Regions from separate parts of the Homo sapiens genome. Here region 2 is linked to region 1. The links are contacts of gene promoters, found by promoter capture Hi-C in human tissues and cell types (Jung and others, 2019). All regions are on one chromosome and are shown on one strand. Each heading gives the region's core, a stretch centred on a gene start or on the middle of the fragment in contact. The rest is flanking DNA. Distances are from core to core; before and after follow the strand shown. Region 1 holds the start of TFPI2 (tissue factor pathway inhibitor 2). Region 2 has its middle 120 kb from the start of BET1.

Region 1 (4,012 bases), core at 504-3,003:
AAGTCAAGAATAATTATTTACTTGAGAATGTTGAATACAACAAGAGAAAAGGGGAAGGGAAGACAAGTATATTAAAATGTCTTCAAAAATATCTTTAATATTTTATGTAAAATTTCACTGTAGGTAATTGTTTGTATTAAAAAAAAAAGTGGATCACAAGCTAATATGTCAAAGGAACAGGGAACTTTAATGGATGCACTGACATTAGGAAATGTGTGGGAATACACTGATCTGGTCAAATCTTCAGAACTCCCCAAGGCTATCTCTCTGGGCTGCTATGGTTCTTCTCCAAAAACATAGATACATACAAAAACATAGCTTCATACATGCTTGGTTGGGGTGTAAAATGGTACAATCATCTTGAAAAAATCCTTTGGCAGTGTCTAACATTTCTAAGTATTTTATCCAAGAGTAATAAAAATTGCAGGTCCACACAAAGCAGCTTTTTTCATAAGAGCCCCCAAACAAACTAGAAACAACACAAATTCCAGTAATAAGACATTTGTGATATATTAGAATATTACTCAATGATTTAAAGGAACAGACTATTGATACACACAGCAACATATTTATACATTGTGGGATATTCATACGTTTTGGTAAATTCATACCTTGGACTACGCAGGAATTAAAAGAAACAGACTATTGATGCAGTGACCTGGGCGTATCTCAAAAACAGGAAGTGTGAGAAAGAAATACTACACAGTGAATACTTTATAATTCCGTTTATATGAAATTCAAGAATAGGCAAATCTAATCTATGGTAATCGAAATGAGAAGAGTGTTTGCCCCTGGCCTAAGGATGGAAGGATTGATTTAGGAAAAAGTCTGCAGGAGCTTTCTGGAGTGATGGAAATGTTCTAACTCTTTTTTTTTTCTTCTTCTTCTTCTTTTTCTTCGTTTCGAGACGGAGTTCCACTCTGCCGCCCAGACTGGAGTGCAGTGGCGCCATCTGGGCTCACTGCAGCCTCCGCCTCCTGGGTTCAAGCCATTCTCCTGCCTCAGCCTCCCGAGGGGCTGGGACTACAGGTGCCCGCCACCACGCCCGGCTAATTTTTTGTGTTTTTAATAGAGACGGGGTTTCGCCATGTTGGCCAGGCTAGTCTCGAACTCCTGATTTCAGGTGATCCACCCGCCTTGGCCTCCCAAAGTGCTGGGATTACAGGCGCGAGCTACCGCGCCCAGCCAAAATGTTCTAATTCTTTATTGGTGGCTACACAGTTGTCAAAATTTATCAAACTGTCCACCTACGATATATTATAAGCCTGTATTAAATGTAAATTAGAACTCGATTGAAATCTGTGTGTATAAATATAAATATACACTTATTTACATTTCTAATCTAATCTGAAGGTCCATTGCAACGAATCCCGCTCCGCTCTGACCCAAGAACTCCGCACTTTCTCTCCACCAGCCTTTCAAATACCTGAACTTCATGCCTTCAAGAGGTGGATTCCGGCTTCTTTACAGCGCAATCACTAGCAGGTCATTTCCGTCTAGCTTGCAGATTTCCCATTACTGACACAAACGCTCCCTCAGGGCGTCCCCGTCTGGACTACAGGAGAAAGTTTGGGAGGCAGGTTCAACTTTTCAACTTGGCGGGGAATTCCTCTCCCTCTTACACAGTTTGCAGCGCGGGGGCGGCGGGGTGACAGTCCCCGTGCATGAATCAGCCACCCCTCAGGCTCCGCCCCGGCGGGGGTCGGCCGGACGCTCGCCCCGCATAAAGCGGGCACCCGGGCCGCCTGGAGCAGAAAGCCGCGCACCTCCTCCCGCCAGGCGCTTTCTCGGACGCCTTGCCCAGCGGGCCGCCCGACCCCCTGCACCATGGACCCCGCTCGCCCCCTGGGGCTGTCGATTCTGCTGCTTTTCCTGACGGAGGCTGCACTGGGCGATGCTGCTCAGGAGCCAACAGGTATCTGGCCGCTCCAGGAGCTTCTCTCCCCAACCGGCGGAGAGGGCGCAGCGGGCCATGGGGCCCCGTGTAGGCGCCCTCCAAGCCTCGCTTTCTCCAGGTCCCTGCCGCGCGCTCCGCTGGCAGGGGGGACTCGCTCCCAAGTTTGCACTTTCTCTGCAGAGGCCCCTCCGCTCGGAAGGGGACAGAACTCCCCGGGATGTTCTTTCCTCCTAGGAGCTACGCCTGACCACTTTCCCTCTCTTTTGCTCTCCTTCTGCCCCTTCTTCAGGAAATAACGCGGAGATCTGTCTCCTGCCCCTAGACTACGGACCCTGCCGGGCCCTACTTCTCCGTTACTACTACGACAGGTACACGCAGAGCTGCCGCCAGTTCCTGTACGGGGGCTGCGAGGGCAACGCCAACAATTTCTACACCTGGGAGGCTTGCGACGATGCTTGCTGGAGGATAGAAAGTAAGTGCCCTGCGCGCACCCAGGACTCTCGCGCTCCTTGCGCCGGCGGCTGGTAGCAGCTTCGCCAGTTTCCCACGTCTCGCTTTCTACAGGAAGTTTTAGCCTGGGTTTTCTCAAGTGTTAAGCAAACCTCATGGTTTTCAGTTTCTTAAAAGTAATCACAAATTTACAACCACTAACACATTTCCTGTCTCCCAACTGACATTGATCATAATTCAGTGCCTGTGCGGACTCAGGGAAAGATTTGTTCCCTCACCATGGGGTATAATAAATGCAAGAGAATAACGTGTTAGGTACAACGTAAGTGCTTCTCTGTATTTTTCATTAATTCCAAACCTATGATTTTTATCTCTCCTGGAGTACATCATTTCCTTCTGTCGATTATCCATCAATCTGAAATATTTTTAGTGGATTTTATTATTGAAGTGTGACTTAGCTCATTATATAACTCTACTTTTGTCCCGATACCCAAACATGTGTTGGATTAGTTGCGGGACATGGTGGAGATTCATAATACTGTTATATTTTAATTTATTTTTAATTTTTAAATTATATCGGTTAAGGCCTGTAAGAGAACATGGGGCTTTTCCATTCAAGGAACTGAGCCAGGGGAAAATGCGTATTCATGTGAATAAGCTTTGATTCACTGCATATGTACAATCAGAGAACACCCAGAGAAAACAGAGAGTCTTTCTACTGAACTTGAAAGATACATCACAGCTGAGTCAGCTCTGAATACACTGTTAGAAAAAAAAAAAGTAAATATCTGGATTCATGGGAGTATTCTGGGTATTTACTATCCCAACACTAATACAACTTCTCTCCCCCCACAAAATGTTGCTGAAAATACAGTGATGGTTTAATAAGAAGGCTACTTTTGACTAACATTGTTCTATTACCCTCCTTTTCCTAGAAGTTCCCAAAGTTTGCCGGCTGCAAGTGAGTGTGGACGACCAGTGTGAGGGGTCCACAGAAAAGTATTTCTTTAATCTAAGTTCCATGACATGTGAAAAATTCTTTTCCGGTGGGTGTCACCGGAACCGGATTGAGAACAGGTTTCCAGATGAAGCTACTTGTATGGGCTTCTGCGCACCAAAGAAAAGTAAATACGATTTTTATGGTATTTCTATTTCACTTTTTTGAAAAGACATTTGGGTGGAAAAAACTCAATTTGATGCGAAATTAACATGTGCATTTTCATGATTTCACATTACTTGACAAGTTAGTGACTTGTCAAGTTCTTAGGACTGGAAAGTGACAAAGCCATGATTCAAATTTTTGCTTTCTGCCTCTTCTGATTTGTTGTTTTTGAGACGGACTCTCGCCCTGTTGCCCAGGCTGGAGTGCAGTGGCACAATCTCGGCTCTCTGCAACCTCTGCCTCCCGGGTTCAAGCGATTCTCCTGCCTCAGCCTCCTGAGTAGCTGGGACTACAGGCGCCCGCCACCATGCCCAGCTAATTTTTTTTTTTTTCTTCTTTCTCTTTCTCTTTCTTTCTCTCCTTCCTTCCTTTCTCTCCTTTCTTTTTCTCTTTCTTTCTTTCTTTCTCTTTCCTTCCTTCCTTCCTTCCTTCCTTCCTTCCTTCCTTCCTTCTTTCCTTCCTTCCTTCCTTCTTTCTTTCTTTTCTTTCTTTCTTTCTTTTTT
Region 2 (4,012 bases), core at 857-3,356, 240 kb before region 1:
AAAAAAAAATGGAACATCAAAGCAAACAAAGAAAATTTCCTGCCTCTATACTATTGGGATAGTAATGATAAGAGTAGTAATAGCAAAACGAGTCAATGGTAAGACTTGAAAAGGGTCTTCCAACATCTTTGATGGTAGTTTTGAAAATGTTCATAACGTATGGTGCTTTTGTGAGAATTCATAGATACGTTTTTTTCCAAAATACCTTCCACAAGTTATTTGATTTTATACCCAGAGAAGACTCTGAGGTATGAAAGTCACATGCCATTGCACAATTTTAACAGATTAATAAACTTAGGCCAAGGGAAATAAAATGACTTGCTTAAGATCACATATTTAATGGCAATTGGGATTAGACAACTGACTTTCCTGGCTCTGAGTCAGAATCCTTTCTGTAATAACAAACAGGTGTTTTTCTATCATCTACCATCACAGCTGTACCTACATCTCCATCTCTAAAGAGGAATGTGCTAGTGACATCAAGGTGGCAGTCACCTCCATAAGCCTATGTGCATGCATAAATAAATCCTCATGTGCCCAGAGCCTTTCCTTGAAGAAGCCTGATAAGCATCGACTATTCATTCTTATGTTTTTTTTTTTTTTTTTTTTTTTTGAGATGGAGTTTCACTCTCGTTGCCCGGGCTGGAGTGCAATGGCGCGACCTCTGCTCACCGCAACCTCTGTCTCCTAGGTTCAAGCAATTCTCCTGCTTCAGCCTCCCGAGTAGCTGGGATTACAAGCATGTGCCACTACGCCCGGCTAATTTTGTATTTTTAGTAGAGACAGGGTTTCTCCATGCTGGTCAGGCTGGTGTCGAACTCCCGACCTCAGGTGATCCGCCCACCTCAGCCTCCCAAAGTGCTGGGATTACAGGCATGAGCCACTGCGCCCAGCCCACTCTTTTTTTCCTTGAAAACTGGCCCGGCCCAGTTTTTTCCTTGAAAACTGTTCCATGGGTCACAGCACCATGATGTCAGATCATATAAGTTAGGTTCTTATGTCAATTACAGCTTTGGGGCTTGTGTTTGATAGGTAACATGAGACTCCATCTTCATTCAAAAGTACCTGGGTGCCTAACTGCTTCCCACCTTCTCAATGTAAATGGCTCAGAGGAAAGGGTTCTGCTGTAATATACGCTGATGTTTATAGACAGGCTGGAGAGCTCTTACAATAGGCACTCTCAACCTAAGGTCATTGGATGGATGTACTTTGGGGAGTCTATAAAACTACTGAAATTATACCTGGAATCTCCAAGTATGTGCATGTGGTTATTTTTCTGGAGAAAGGATCCATAAACTCATCAGATGCTCAAAGGGATCTGTGACTCAAATAGGTTTAATTAAGAACAACTGCTTTCTGTTTTATTCTTTTGAGCATTTAGCAGAACAAATGCCAAAAATCTGTAGCTTTACAGCAAAAGGGAAAATCCTAGGAATGCTGTTAGCAAGTTGAGTTTTCTAACATGTGAAACCATTACTACTACCTCCTAAGGGAGAATATGAGAATGATGTCCATAAGGATTAAGCTGATATAAGATAGACATGTACAAGTGTGCAAATTATGTTAATATAGATATGTTTCATAAAAAAGGCATATGTCTAGCCAAATGTCCTGGGATTTTGCTTTCAGCTGAGATTCTAACTCTGCCTTTACATCATAGAATTAAACACGGTTATAAAATAGTCCTTTGTTTTAAAGATTGAATTTAGGTTATTGTGTCTACAAGTCCTCCTCACAAATATGTAAGGTACATGAACAAGAAAAATTTTCTTTTGTGGCAGTATAGGAAAATTTTGAAAACAATGTAGGACATGTAAATAAATTATAGTTAATTGTTAATTATTTTTTCCAGTACACAATGCTAAAAGCTGTATATTATATATGAACTCAATACTGTAAAATGTGTGTGGTGGATAAGACAGTGAATATGCTCAGGAATTGTCCAGAGGAGGGCTGTACTTAAACAGATTGAAAGTGGGGAAATAAATAGAAAATGATAGATAAGTGAAAAGGAACACAGATTTAGGGGAAGGACTGATATTCCCTGTAACACCCACTTTGCAACTAGTTAGTTTCCAATTAGTGTTAGGGGATATATGCTACATTTTCTATGGAGGAAAAGCTTAAAATGATGGCATGGCCAAGTATTCCCAGTGCCTGGTTTGATACCTGACACATACTCCATAAATATTTGTTCAATAAAAAAATTGCTCTTTAGGGGGCTACATCACTGTGAGCCACATTCCTTCCAACTGCATTTTGAAAATTATACCATTTCCAGTAACAAAAAAGGTGACCTGTACTTGACTCCTCAGTCATGCAAAGGTGAAACCCAGTAGAAGGTCTGGCATGGTGGGCTGGCTTGCACAGTACAGGATCTCTTAAATCATCATTATCTCAAAAATTTATTTGAATGTGTGAAATTAATATTTTCTCCAACAGACCTTCCCTTATCTGATCATTAAATGATCATACATGACATTTATTGAAAACTCATTCCATGTCAGCCACTGTCCTAAGTATCCTGCATGCAAAATCTCAGGCTCCACTCTAGCTCTTGGAGTCAGGATCCACAGGTTTACCAGATTCCCAGGCCATTCGGATGCATACTGATGTTTGAGAAGCAGTGAATTCATTCATTTAATTCTTGCAACAGCCATTTGAGGTGGTGCTATTATTATTTCCATTTTAAAGAGGGGGAAATAAAGGCACTAAGTTGAGTTACATACGTAAGGACACTCAGACAGCAAAGGGTGGAGCCAAGATTCAGACCCAGAGAGGCTGACATGGTATCTGTGATCTTCACCACCTTACTACTTTTCTGTTTGATAGCACTACCACCAGCAGCAATCCCAAATCCATAACAGTTATCATAGTAAAAGTAATGACACCTTTGAGCAGGAAGATTAAATGGAATCTGGGGAGTTCTGCAAAGAGGAAGTCTGCTGTAGCACAAAGGACACAGGATTTGGAACAAGTGAGATCTGAGTTTTGCCTCTTATTACCAGCGTGATCTTGTACTAGTAATGTATCCTATCAATTAGTTTCCTCATCCGTTAAACTGGGCTACAATTTCCCAAGTTGTTGTAAGAATTGATGATAACATATTCAATCTACCTTGAAAACTATCTGGAACTCAGTAAGTGGTGATGCTTATCCTTACTGGAAAGGGATCTGCAATTATATGTTTGTCATAAGTAGCTTGAAATATTTATTTGAACATTAGAATAGTTACAGATCATCGTGAGCAAATATTCAAACAAAACTTGTGCTTTTTCCCTCGTTATTTGAACCAGAAGAAAAGCTATTTTAAAAAACTTTGCCAGCTTTGGTAATTATTAAAGAGTTAACTTAGTCATTTAGAAGGAGTAGGTTAGGTACAACAAAGGACAAGTCATTTTGCAGGCATAGGTCCACTACAATAAAGTACTGAAGGAGAGAAACTTCTGGAATTCTCTATCAGTCTCAAGATGTATCTGATCCTTAGGCTTTGTCTTTATTTTCTAGGAGCTCTTTGGGATATCTTTGGGAATAACACTGTAGGCAGACCCAGAATTGTTCTGGGACATCACCAGTATTAGTTCCACATCTGACAGATAGAGGAGAACAGATGCAATTTCCTTGGAACTTTAGAGAGGTAGAAAGGAGAGTAGGCTGTCCTCCTTTTCCTTTTGGTCTCTGATTTCTCACAAAAGATGTTAAACTTATCCACTGAACTTTGGGTTTTCAAATTTGGTTATAAACGATTTCCTTATGTGCTGATCATGAGTATAATTGAAACAGTGAGGTAGGGGTTGTACCTAAAATCACAGAACCACTTCTCTTCTGGCTCTTCTGGTGTCTGTGAAGATTCATGGTCAGGCTAGGTATAGGGGAAGAACAGAAAAATAAGCTCTTAGCTACCTAAGGAAAGGGAGCCTTGGCCATTAATTCAGTTATCAAAGCCCTGGCAGCATGTTAACACAATTGGCCCACTCTAAAGCATACAATCTATTTTTCTTTATCTCACAAC

The links. Contacts are between HindIII fragments. The study calls those that stand out against the background at their distance.
Region 2: a fragment that was not itself captured here is called in contact with the fragment with the promoter of TFPI2 in region 1 in 1 of the 25 tissues and cell types used here (H1 embryonic stem cells).

What each region holds. Positions count from the first base shown.
Region 1 is chr7:93,888,494-93,892,505 of GRCh38, reverse strand. It overlaps TFPI2 (tissue factor pathway inhibitor 2), which reads left to right and starts at 1,753. Exons shown (of 5, transcript NM_006528.4): 1 at 1,753-1,915; 2 at 2,187-2,369; 3 at 3,283-3,471. The coding sequence starts at 1,828. TFPI2-DT (TFPI2 divergent transcript) reads right to left here and starts at 1,612. Exons shown (of 2, transcript NR_134235.1): 1 at 1,427-1,612. The HindIII fragment of the contact is 8,158 bases long and covers 1-3,774 here.
Region 2 is chr7:94,124,579-94,128,590 of GRCh38, reverse strand. No RefSeq gene overlaps it. Among named protein-coding and RNA genes, the nearest start is that of BET1, 120 kb to the right of the region's middle. The HindIII fragment of the contact is 3,985 bases long and covers 114-4,012 here.